3 separate regions of the Homo sapiens genome follow, and regions 2 and 3 are each linked to region 1. Evidence: promoter capture Hi-C in 16 types of primary human blood cells and fetal thymus (Javierre and others, 2016). All regions are on one chromosome and are shown on one strand. Each heading gives the region's core, a stretch centred on a gene start or on the middle of the fragment in contact. The rest is flanking DNA. Distances are from core to core; before and after follow the strand shown.

What was found. The method cuts DNA at HindIII sites, captures the fragments that hold promoters and counts their contacts. A CHiCAGO score of 5 or more calls a contact.
Region 2: the fragment with the promoter of COG5 here is called in contact with the fragment with the promoter of RINT1 in region 1 in 1 of 17 cell types (activated CD4 T cells); the score reaches 7.0 in activated CD4 T cells.
Region 3: the fragment with the promoter of CBLL1 here is called in contact with the fragment with the promoter of RINT1 in region 1 in 1 of 17 cell types (non-activated CD4 T cells); the score reaches 6.5 in non-activated CD4 T cells.

What each region holds. Positions count from the first base shown.
Region 1 is chr7:105,530,598-105,534,660 of GRCh38, forward strand. RINT1 (RAD50 interactor 1) reads left to right here and starts at 1,604. Exons shown (of 15, transcript NM_021930.6): 1 at 1,604-1,760; 2 at 2,227-2,272. The coding sequence starts at 1,719. It also overlaps the pseudogene LOC100131785. RefSeq lists enhancers at 885-934, 1,222-1,799, 1,385-1,684, 1,775-1,954, 1,800-2,376. The HindIII fragment of the contact is 4,822 bases long and covers 1-1,857 here.
Region 2 is chr7:107,561,198-107,565,390 of GRCh38, forward strand. It overlaps COG5 (component of oligomeric golgi complex 5), which reads right to left and starts at 2,723. Exons shown (of 22, transcript NM_006348.5): 1 at 2,606-2,723. The coding sequence starts at 2,699. DUS4L-BCAP29 (DUS4L-BCAP29 readthrough) reads left to right here and starts at 2,774. Exons shown (of 13, transcript NR_163941.2): 1 at 2,774-3,012; 2 at 3,391-3,479. DUS4L (dihydrouridine synthase 4 like) reads left to right here and starts at 2,774. Exons shown (of 8, transcript NM_181581.3): 1 at 2,774-3,012; 2 at 3,391-3,479. RefSeq lists silencers at 2,602-2,812, 2,851-2,950 and enhancers at 2,651-2,770, 3,301-4,193. The HindIII fragment of the contact is 2,647 bases long and covers 956-3,602 here.
Region 3 is chr7:107,742,269-107,746,473 of GRCh38, forward strand. CBLL1 (Cbl proto-oncogene like 1) reads left to right here and starts at 1,874. Exons shown (of 6, transcript NM_024814.4): 1 at 1,874-1,908. The coding sequence starts at 1,896. It overlaps CBLL1-AS1 (CBLL1 antisense RNA 1), which reads right to left and starts at 2,313. Exons shown (of 2, transcript NR_144537.1): 1 at 2,105-2,313; 2 at 485-1,135. RefSeq lists enhancers at 463-982, 983-1,501, 1,599-1,818, 2,169-2,348 and a silencer at 1,359-1,558. The HindIII fragment of the contact is 5,122 bases long and covers 665-4,205 here.

The DNA.
Region 1 (4,063 bases), core at 354-2,853:
GACGAGATAAGGCTCGAAAACAGCAGCAGCAGCAGAACCGACTGGAGAACCTCCATGGAGCCATGTACACGTGAGGAGGCTGGGGCTGAGCGCCGGTCCTCTGTGTCTTCCCTACAAACCTTGAATCCTCATTAAAATTTCTTTACCCGTCCCCCGCCCCGCCCCAGAAAAAAAGGCCGGGCGCAGTGGCTCACACCTGTAATCCCAGCACTTTGGTACGCCAAGGCGGGCAGTTCACCCGAGGCCGGGAGTTCGAGACCAGCCTGACTAACATGGAGAAACATCGTCTCTACTAAAAATACAAAATTAGACGGGCGTGGTGGTGCATGCCTGTAATCCCAGCTACTTGGGAGGCTGAGGCAGGCGAATCGCTTGAACCTGGGAGGCGGAGGTTGCTGCGAGCAGAGATAACGCCATTGCACCCCAGCCTGAGCAAAAAAAAAACAAACACACATGTACACTATAAATATATACGATTATGTTCCCATAATAGGTAATTTAAAAAATAGTATCCTTGTTTTTTTTTTTTTTTTTAAATGAGACGGAGTCTTGCTCTGTCGTCCAGGCTAGAGTGCAGTGGTGCGGTCTCTGCTCACTGCACGCTCCACCTCCCGGGTTCACGCCATTCTCCTGCCTCAGCCTCCTGAGTAGCTGGGACTACAGGCGCCCACCACCACGCCTGGCTAATTTTTTGTATTTTTAGTAGAGACGGGGTTTCACCATGTTAGCCAGGATGGTCTCGATCTCCTGACCTCGTAATCTGCCTGCCTCGGCCTCCCAAAGTGCTGGGATTACAGGCGTGAGCCACAGCGCCCAGCCATCCTTGTTTTATGCTTGCAATAGTAATTTGTAGCTCGATTATATATCTCTGTGCACATGTATTTGATTTTTCTTCTCACCGTGTGGTTTCTTTTTCCTCTGAGGGTTGCTTTCCCCCCCCCTTGTTTGTTATGGTCTCTATGGTACTCCTTCCGTGTTAGTTTGTTTAAGAGGCTGTCAAGTCCACAGGTCCTCTACACAACCCTTGCTGCTAGGTAGCTCCCTTTCCTCCTCCCTGGTAAAAGACAGGGTTTTGGGCGAAACACATGTTAGATGCTCTGTTCTCTTCATTCAGCTCCCAGAACGCTTATAACCACCTCTACACCCTCTAGGCAGGAAATCAGAAGCTCATCTCTAGGGACTCTGACCAACGTTAAAAGAAATATCTAAAGATACTGACATTCATTGGAAACCCCCAACTAAATATTCGAACCAAATAACCCTGCACCGAAGCTCCTAGTCAACAAGCCCCCCACACTCTCAGAACATCTGGATATTGCCTAAAATATAAATTTAAATTATTCATATTGAATTTAAGGCGTTGGGAGAGGGATATCTTAAAGTTCCATCATTAAGAGCTTCAATAAAGTGGAGGGGACTTTTACCGCGGTGGAGTGAGCGAATCCCTTCTCTGGAGCTCCATAGGGGAGGGTGCCCGCTTCCTGAGTGGCCGTTCCGACCTCCGGTCAGGAGGGGGAGGAACAGAGCACGGCCGGCGGCTGCACGGGCAGGGCCTCTCTGGGCTGAGAGGAAGAAACCAGTGAGACATCGAGAGGAAGTCGCTGTGGCACTCAGTCCTACGGCCTCCGAGGCTGGGTAGTGAGTGTGTCGCTGGCCTTAGCCAGACTCCACAGGCCACGCTGGCTGCGAATGGAGCCGAGGACTCGCGCGGAGGCGAGATGCTACCAGCCGGCGAGATCGGCGCCTCTCCTGCAGCCCCGGTGAGACGGCCCTGGCGTCCCTGGGAGGGGACATTGGTGGCCCATTGAGGTGGCACAGACCTCCCGGGGGAGATAGTCCCGGTGCGGTGGCCCTGTAAGCTTGTGAAGGTGCTTCCTGCGGCTTAGATTAGAGGCCCTTGTAAGACCTCCTAGAGGAGGCGGTAGTCCCCGTGAAGTGGCTTTGGCGGCCCTGGTGAGATGACAGATTTCTCTAGGGAGGTGGCTCTAGTGAGCAGGCAAGGTAACTCCAGGTCCTGCGGAGGTGACACACACCTCCTGGGAAGGTGGCGGTGGCACCAGGACAGTGGCACTTTGAGGTACCTGATTCGGACGGCCCTGGTCGCTCAGAAAGTGGGAGAGCGTCTGGAACCTCTCTTGCCTCCAGTGGGTGCCCTTTGGGAGCCCCGTATGCTTTCCATCCACGACTTTAATCTTAATGTGCTTGTCACATCTGTTCTTCTTCTAGTGCTGCTCTGAAAGTGGTGACGAAAGGAAGAACCTCGAGGAGAAAAGTAAGCCAGCTCCAAACACCTTAGCTTTTTCTTCCCGCCCAAACTCAGCCTTCCAGGGTCTGCAATATAGAAAGGTTCTTTGCCTATCTTTTAGATGCAGTACCGTTTTCTGCACAATATGCTTATATGGTAATACTGATGACCATGATACACATATTTTTGTCTTTCTAAAATTGTAAAATATGGGATGCTTTGGAGAAGAGCACTTCCCGATCCATACCTAGTACAGGGACTAGAGTGTTTTCGCTGGAAGTCTGCCTATCATACAGTACTCAGAATAATTGGGGCCTGCCTGTCATTTTAATGAAACATCAACTTACTAAGCATCAGGAATTTGGAGGGGCCCATGATCTAGGACAGACGACCACCACCCTAATTGGGTTCAAAGGAGGCAAATGACAGTTGTTTAGTTCACCTTCAGTAAATTGGCAATTTAAAATTGCTCTGGCAAGAGCACAACGGATAACTTGGGTTCTGGATCTTGGACTGGACAGGAAAGGGGGAAAAGGTCAGTACCACCATTTCCTCCCTAGTACGGGAGTATATGTCAGGGTTGTGGACTTTTGCCATTTTACTTTGATGGCAGGTTATTGCAAATCAAGGGCTCTTTAGGGACCTTTGAAGTGACATTTTTTGGGAGAGGAAGGGGAAAAGCATGTGATAGCTCTGCTATTGGGATTTTTGGTTCTTTTGACTGTGGCAAACAGTTGGGAATGTGTAGCAGTAAGAAAAACGGTGCCCACATTAGCACATGGCCCTTAGGAGTAAGATTTGCCCTTAACATTAGCGGCTGATAGAATCTGCCTCAGAAAGAAGGCTCTGAGCAGTCCATAGCACATGACTGTCATAACTGCCACATCTCAGCTCCTTTTTCTTGAAGGATTTCAGAGTGCCTTGTATCTCTCAGTTAAACCCTTCCCTTTCCATTTTCCACCTTTGCCTCATTCAGATGCCTGGAAAGTAGTCTGATGCCTACTGAGCTGTCATTTTAATAAAATAATAGATGTAGACTATCATATCAAGGACTTTGACCTTGTTCCTCTTTCCACAGCTCAAACTGCTTTGCAGTTAGGAGTGCTCTTTACAAAAAATAGAAAAGGAGACACATAAAAACCTCCCAAACCACCGGTGTGTCATTTTGAAGAATGTCATTTCACTAAGAATGTACTATGCCACATTTGAATGGTTACACATCAAGGGTGTAATTTTTTTTTTTTTTGAGACTTAGTCTCACTCTGTCTCTCAGGCTGGAGTGCAGTGGCGCGATCTCGCCTTACTGCAAGCTCCGCCTCTGAGTTCAAGTAATTCCCCTGCCTCGGCCTCCTCAGTAGCTGGGATTACTGGTGCCCGCCAAACACCCGGCTAATTTTTGTATTTTTAGTAGAGGCAGGGTTTCACCATTTTGGTTAGGCTGGTCTTGAACTCCTGACCTCAGGCAATCCACCGTCCTCGGCCTTCCAAAGTGCTGGGATTATAGGCATGAGCCACTGTGCTCAGTGGGTGTAATTTTTTTTAAAAAATGAAGGTAGAATTTCCTCCCTAAGATACAGCAACTTTAGCATTCACAAAACATTTCCTGCCTCCATTTATCTGCAGATACACCACACAAATCACTTGTTTTATTTAAGATTTAAAAAAGGCATTGTGAGTTCTGTACATAATAGTAGATTATTATACGTTAATATTATATATAATTATATAGTATAATTAATATATAATTTGTATTATATAGTCCCATTTATAACCTTGAGATATAGGCTGGGGCAAATGTTACAATTTGTTTTCTAGTTG
Region 2 (4,193 bases), core at 1,473-3,972, 2.0 Mb after region 1:
TCCTCATTCCCATAGAGGGCATATCAGAAACACCTCACCAATTTTCATACTATGCATCTGTGCTCACCAAGCCTATCAATCCGATACTCTGTCATTGGCCAAATCCCCGATATAGTGAATCAAAGTTTCTGCTGGAAATGCTTAATTCCTCAGGAATGTTGGGGGTGGAGGGGCAACAGAGACCGCTTAATTCAGAACAAACTGAACTGACAAGTATCTACAGGAACCTGGAAAAGAGCACCTAGAGAATTAAGAATTTTTAAAAAGCACGGCACCCATAAACCGCATGAGGAAAGTATTTCAAGAAAGGAATCAAATGTTATTACAAGTTAAAGGACCAAAAAAGTGTCCATTTGTCGTATGTGCAAGAAAGTCATTGAAAACCTTGCAAAGTTACTTCAATGGCATAGATTGAGGGTGACTGAGTCCCCAGGAAACAGGAAGAAAAAATCCAGAGCAAAGTAGGAGGCACTATCCTTAGAACGGAGCAGAGACTCGGCCGGGCGTGGTGGCTCACGCCTGTAATCCCAGCACTCTGGGAGGCCAAGGCAGGCAGATCACGAGGTCAGGAGATCGAGACCATCCTGGCTAACACGGTGAAACCCCGTCTCTACTAAAAATACAAAAAATTAGCTAGGCATAGTGATGGGCGCTTGTAGTCCCAGCTTCTCAGGAGGCTGAGCCAGGAGAATGGCGTGAACCCCGGAGGCAGAGCTTGCAGTGAGCCGAGACTGCGCCACTGCACTCCAGCCTGGGCAACAGCGCGAGACTCCGTCTCAAAAAAAAAAAAGAAAGAAAGAAAGAAAGGAGCAGAGGCTCCACTTCCGTTGCAATTGAAAAGGCAAGGGAAAAAAGGTGCAACAGATGGTTATACGTTGAGGTTAAATTCATAGGTTTGATGGGCAAGAAATGGAGAAAGTTCACATCTGATGGATCCTCTTTTTCTCCCCAGGGAAGCTTAAAGTCATTTGTTGAGCTTGAAGCGAAAGGTTTGAAAAGGGTAAAGAAGATTTAAACAATCACTGTGGAGAATGGCAGAGAACCAAGGAGGAAAATACAGAAGGCAGAACTGAAGAGTATTTACCGTCCAAGAACTGATTACAATTCCTGAAATACATCCTACTGAAACATATATCCAATGTTCCACTGTTCACCTGGGGAAGTCCTGTCTACAGTTTAAAACGTCTCCACCTAGAAAGCCTTTTCTGACATTTCCTAACCAGTTTCCAACCCCCAGTTATCATTCTCCTCTGTATTAATGCTCTACTTTATATGCAATCCTACTGCTATCTTACATCACTATATTACAGCACCTACCTTTATAGTCTACAAGATTATTTCCTCTACTAGATGGTGAACTACTTGAGGGCAAAAATTGCACGTGTATCAGGAGCAACTGCAAATATATCAGGGTCTCTGCCTTGTATCTAAAGTTTAAATTCAGTTTAGCCAAGTTTTAGACAGAGACCCGGTCCTAGAGTTTCCAACATGAAATAGTTCAGAAAACATCATTGCTTTTGACAAAAGTACATAAATTATCATGAAAAGGCACGTAATTCAGGATGACAATAAAATATTTAACAGTCAGAGAAAATAAACAATAATTTGGAACTTTATTTCATTTATTACCCACTTCGGTCTTCAAATGTGTGCATGTGCTTCTAACTGCGATGATGAATTTAAAAAACATTCTGCACCTACTGTATGCAAGATACTGCTATTCACACTGTGGGATATTAAAAAAAGTTTGCAATACAGAAGAGATTAAAACAAGTATACAAATGATTTTAGTACAAGGTAGAATGCGATGGCCACTAGAGAAAAAATTAAGAACAGGTGAGAAGGGCTTTATTTTTATGCTTATAAATGTGAACTTTATTCTGAAGGATAAGAGATTCGGGACATGGTAACTGGATTGACACAACTGAATATGCTTTTCAAGTATATTATATCTAACTTTTCTTATTTTGGGCAACTTCTCTCCAAACTGACTAGCAATAAAATCTGACTGCTAGATTCTGTACAAATGGTTAATCCCAACCTGAACAAATGTCTCAAACCCTCCCCCACGTGTCACTGTAGATAACTGCCTCATAAAGGAGGAAAAAAAAAACCAGCCTGTAAGAGGGGTCACCTGTACAGTCCATTTGTTAAAGGAGTAAGCGTTTCCAGCTCTACTTTAAAACAAGGCCCTATTTCATTATGCGTCTGCCGTCTGTTCTAGAGCTTACACTTTTGAAGAGCTCGAACGCTACACCCCTTCGTCAAGAACTGCGGCAGCAGCCGGTGGCTGCCAACGCGGTCCACAGGGTTTGGGCTCCCGAAACTTCAGGGAAGCTGGAGGCATGGGGGGGGGGGGGGTCGAGTTGAAATGAGGAACACACAGAAACCAAGTGTCCCCAAGACTCCAGAAAAGAGGGAGCCAGTCCCAGAGTAAATAGGTTGGCTAGAACAGTACCCAAGCCAGGGGGCCGGGCGGAGGGGAGTGGTCACGTCCAGACTGGAAAACTTTCTGCAAAGCAACGGGTTGGGTCCACCTCGCTGTCCAGGTGCGGAGCAGCGCAGACCCCCAACCCCACGACCTGGTCAGACCCCGTCTCCTTACCGTCCTGCAGAAGTTCCCGGACTGTAGCTGCAGCCGCTCCAGAGCCTCGAGCTCCGAGGCCAGCTACAGCGACGCTGCCGCCGCCACCTTCCATGTTGGCAGGTGCCGGGTTGATGTCGTCAGCAGCAGAACGGCTCCGCCCAGGTGGTGACGCAGAATCCCGGCGCCGCCCGCCCACCCAGCCCATGGCTCCAGGCCCACCTGGCGAACTGACTCTCAGCCCGCGCCTGGGCTAAGCCTGGCTAGGAGCCGCGCAGGTACTCGAGCAGTGGGCGCCCAGGGTCCGAGTGCTCTGCGCCCAGCGCACCGAGGGAGCCAAGGCCGTCGGGCCGGCGCTTTCAGCTGTCTCTCGCAGCAGCTCAGGGCCGCGCCCCCTGGGCTGGCGTCGTGCCCTAGCCAAGGAGAAGGTGGGCACCGGAACGTGGCCGCAGCGCTTATCTGTGAAGCAAGTATTAAACCTCAGAACAGGGGCCGCGCGGCGTAAGGCAGGAGAGCAGAGCGGAGGTTTCAGGGAGCTTCGTTTGCCCTCCACACTCACAAGAGTCACGCGTTAGTTGCTACACAGCTTTATCTGTTCCACGCCTTGATTGGCACTCCTGGGGTAATAAAAGCCCGCAGGAAATGCTTGGGAAGAAAAGTTGCTGGGGATGAACAGTGAAGAGAATTAGGGAGAGTCGATGAAGAAGGAAGTCTGAACCATAAAAGGACCAATAAAACTCACTGTCTCTACCCTCCTTCCTTCCCATGAGACCTTTGACCTTTTGCCTTTTCTACTTCTTCCTCAGTTTCAGTCACGTGCCAGACTTTTTCTTAATTACAAACTGATAGATGGTCCACATCTCAACTAACAGTATTGACGCTGTAAGAGCATCAGGTTGGTTCCCATTGTATCTTCTTTACTAATACGTTCGCGTTTTTGACCTAGATTTCTTTCTTCTAAGATAAATACTGATAAATTAACAGGGTCAGGCAACCACAAGTATGCAAGACAGTCTTAAGCTTCTTCGCAAAAAGAAGCTGGAAGATGACTTTTTCATTTTGTACAGTAGGTATGTATCCAGGAAACCAATTTTATCCAGTTCCAGAGCTACGTGGTTTTCTACATTCTGTTTCAAAAAGGTGCTATTACTTATCCTGTGCTTATCGCTGTTCTAAGTATTTTATAACTCAATGCATTTCATACTCATAACACCTCAGGTAAGCAAGTCTTATGCTACACTGCATTATGCTCTCTTTGTCTCAGAGGATTTTCCCTAGTATGTAAGATCTTAGTCATGATGGGAATAGGGGTGATTCATTCATTACTTGTGAATTAGGAATTGTTTTTCCTTCCTTGGCTTTATTCCCCCCAGTGGAAGATTTTAGAAGAGTGAGTAATATTCATTCATACAGCGAAAGTTTTGACCCCTCTACTCTGCATGCTCTCATGAGTTTACAAACATAAGACTCAATCCATATTCTAAAAGGAGTTAATAGGTAAGGTAGGAACCCATTTAAACAAACAATTGTACCAGGTGCTTTGGAATCTTTGGATTTACTTATTCCAGTAATTCCAAGCTTAGCTGCACATTGAAATCACCTGAAGAGC
Region 3 (4,205 bases), core at 624-3,123, 2.2 Mb after region 1:
TCCAAGGATGCAGTGAGCTATGATTCTGCCATTGTGTTCCAGTTTGGGCTGCCCCATCTCTAAAAAAAATTTTTTTAATATGAAAAAGAAGTACTTTCTAAGTGAAAACTTAAAAAAAAAAAAAAAACCCAAATTGGTGAAAAATGCCTGACTATATCAACACTGTATTTAGAAAAATAGGGAGGTATGGGAAAAAGGTTAGGCAAGCCCCAATGCCCAAAACAATAATCCCAGAAACTGAAAGCATCTTGAAAACCACCTAGCAATACAGAACTTTACATTTAAAAAAAGCAGGGGTAATTTTGATTCACAAATGTCCTTAGTTGTGAATGTACCTAAAAACTTGTTTATAAAGCTGCATATATAGAGCAGAAAAATCTTTTACAAGATCTCAGGAAAATAATCACCAAATAACATGGTGCACTTAAATCGCACTGATCATCACAGCATGATTCACAAATAATACCGTACAACTACAAAGATATAACACATCGCTACACATACTTTATTTGCAATTCAGTACCATGAAAACATTTCTCTAAGAGGTCAATGTAATAATCTTTTATTGATATAGGAACTCTGGCACTGAAAGCTTGAATAACCCAAGGTAATGATGTCGTCACCAAGGGAGGACAAGAATAGAACCCAAATCCCTTGACTCCCAAGCTTGTGTTTTCCATTAATTGTGCTCCTTTCTATTCATCCAAGAGCATCAAGTGTAAAAGGCTGGAGAAAGGAGTGGACACAAATGAGCCAAGTCCGCAAGGTGGAGACTGCACTGAAGGTCCTAGGAATCGCCCCTTGGCACTTTCCTTTTGTGTTGGCTGAGGAAGATGAAAGCAGCAACAACCACAAACTCCTGGGACCAAGAACTGGAACTAGGTACTGCTTGTTGTGGTAACTCTCTTCCTCATTTTAGGCCTTTCCTTTTTAACCTCTCCTTCCGGCCAAGCCTTCGCGCTCTCTTCCCCTCCCTCGGTTTCTATCCGCTCCCGTTAGCTCCACTCCGCACATTCCTGCAAGGTGTCCCCGTTAAGAGGAGGCAGCTGCGCCGCACTGGCTCTCCACCCTCCATCCGGCCCTGGCGCCCAGTCGTCAGGTGTTCGAGAGGTTCGTAGCGTCACAAGCGCTCTCCCTAGAAAGTGAGTGGCAGTCAAGCATTATAAACGTGTTTCAACTGTAAAGAGACTTAAGAGATGGGAACCGGGGCATATACCAAGTTAGCTCTGCGTGGGTCTAGGTAGCTCGTCACGACAAAGCAAAATTTAGACAAGCGTTGAGACTTTCCTTCTAGCTCCGAGTTTCACAGCTCCGCCATCCCCTGAGCAACCTCCCACTGGAGGGCGCCTTCCGGAGCGCGCGTGTTTACACTTTTGCTACACCAGGCGGAGGAAACAAGCGCTCGCTGACCCCGGGGGATTCCAAACCGTTACTCCGCCCGCCGGGGTGGGGCCAGCGCAACGGCCGAGCCTGCGCAGCCAGCCGGCTCCGGGGGCCCCGCGCACTACAAGTCCCAGAAGGCAGCTCTCCGCGGGGCGGGCAGTCGCCTTATCTGCTTCTGGCTCATTTTTACCACTGCTCTCCCCTTCCCCGGTCCCCCTGGTGTCCTTTCCACAGTTAAAGGCTACTTTCTCTTGAAGCACATGAGGAGAAGCCTTAGCAACCTCAATACCGAAGTTCTTCGCGCGCTCGCTCTTTCTGCCTCCGCCCGAACTATGCCTGAGTCCCTCACAGGAGTTGGATAGTAGAGGCGAGAGAAGGAAGTCTTTGCAGGCCAAAATTGGGACAACCTGCTTGGACTTCCGCCTCCCGGCCTCCGGAAGGCAGTGCGCACGCGCTCGCTGCGACTCCGGCGCGGTTGACTTCCGCTCCCACTGTGCTCTGCGAGCCGAATCATGGATCACACTGGTAAGGAGGCGGAGGCAGTGGGGGTCCCGGTTCCAAGCCCCCTTGGCCGGCCTGGGGCTGGTCGCACAGCAGGCAAAAGGGATTATGCTCGCCCCACAACACTAGGGTGTGGCAGTGAGAAGAAATCTCACAGATGCCTTCCTGTGCCCGGCAGGGGCCTGCGGTTTCCTGGCCTACCGTCTGGTGTGGTACCTACCTCCTCCGTGCCGGCAACAACCGCTCCTACTCTGGTTCTGCTGAGCTCCGAGCCCGGACCAGTGGGCGATGTAGGCCTTCGGGAAGGGAGAGCCCCGGCTCTGTTTTATTTAGCCCAGCTGCTCTGGCCTACGTTATGGAGACTGGCGGGTAGATTGCGGTCTCCGAGTCGCGGAATCCTCTTTACGCTGGGAGTGGACGGGCGAGAATGGGTTGGAGACTTCCTGCTGTCTCAGTCAGCTTTGGGCGGGTGCTGCAGTGGTCACCCCCTGTCGTCTCTCCGATCCTTTATGGACTAGAGGGGTGAAAGAAGGGAGTCTGATAGAGTTTTTGGAATCAAACTCGGAGCAGTTTTTCTACCTAAACCAAAAGCATGCCCCGCGCTTCGGCTGAGGTCCTTACTCATCATTTGAGGGTATTTACAAAGAGGAGTTTAAAATCAAGGCATTCTCATACTTTTCTCCAAGTAAGAGTGGCTCCACCCTTTGTTATGTATTTTCTGGCTTTTGCTTCTTTGTGGTTCTTGGATATTGAATGAGTGCTCTTGGAGTTATGTGCCCCATACATTTATAGCGACCGTATCACAAATAGAGAAAAAAAGGCTTTTTCTTGAGTATTGAGTTGTCCTCACTCATCAGATATCTACTTGGTTATATAATTAGGTGTGTATGTTTATTTATGTAGGTGTGTATGTTTATTTATGCAAGATACATGCAGATATCTATAGGTCGGGAGATGGAAGATGGAATGGTAAACGAGACGGACCAGGTCCGTGATAGAACTTCTGTTTTATGGAGGAACACAGACAATACGTTCTTTTTTTTTAAATTTATTATTTTTTTAATGTTTGCGGATTATTTTGAAGAAAATAAACGAGTGCTGTGGAGAGATTCATAGGACGAAATTTCAGAGAGGGTTGTTAGGAATGGTCTTTGTGGAAGCTAAGATCTGATGGATGAGAAGAACCCAGCCCTGGGAAAAAAGCAAGAGGAAGAGCATTTCCAGCAAGTGCGAAGGCACTGAGGTAGGAAGATACAGTGAAGTCAGCTGCAGCCTCCTAATAGCCAGAGGGTAGGAGTCCTGAAGTGAGATTGGAAAGGAGGGCAGCAGGCACATCATTCAGGTCATTGAAAGCCGTGGTAAACGTTTGAATTTTAATTTAAGTGAATATGAAGCCATTGAACAGAAGTGGAGGAGGAACACAGTCTCTTAAAAAATACAATAGGCTGTTCTATGAAGAATGGTGTAAGAGAGGGAGGTAAGAATGATGGAAAATAGCTGATTGCAGTAGACGGGAAGGGAAGGTTGGTTTGGTGAAAATGAAGGAGAATGGGCAGCTTCAGTAAATACTCTGGTGGTGTTTGAAGGAATGTGAGAGAAAGGAGAAATGCCTAGGCTTTTGGTTTGAGCAACTAGGTAGGGTCCATTATTGAGCTGAGGAAAACTTGGGGCAGAAAACAATCTTTTTTTGTAGAGGTGAGACGGGAATTTGGGAACAAGTGTTTGGTCTTGGACTGCTAGTGTGAGATAACTACTGAGACACAGGAGAGATGCCAAGTGGAGATGAGAGGAAAGATCTGCACTGAAAATACGTATTTGGAAGTTAGTACCTTTATTTATAGCTGGTATTTTAAAGCATGAGGACAGATGAGACCACTTAAGAAGGGTGTGTTCAGAGGAGAAGCCGGCCTAGAACGAGGCTGTAAAGAATTCCAGTGTTTGGGAATTTATAGAGTTGAAACTGGGATTTTGATGTTAGAATAGCAAACATTCAACTTTAGGAAAGTAATTCTTATTTGAGCCCACTACTGGAATTATGAGTCAAGTTCCTGCCATAGTTTAGAGGCTATTATGTTAGGAAATCATAATAGGGGTGAGTGTAAAGAGTGTTTATTATCTTAATTCTTGAAGTTTAGAGATTGCCTAAGGAAGTAAAACTCATCTTAACATGAAAATACTCACGAATGAGCTGACCACTTAAAAAATTAGTTCCCTCTCAGATGTCCCTTCTGCTTAACACTAGCTTCTTACCTATTTTATTTTTTTTAAATGAATCAATCTCTTTGATGTTTAGTATCAGAAGACAGTATCAAATACTGTGC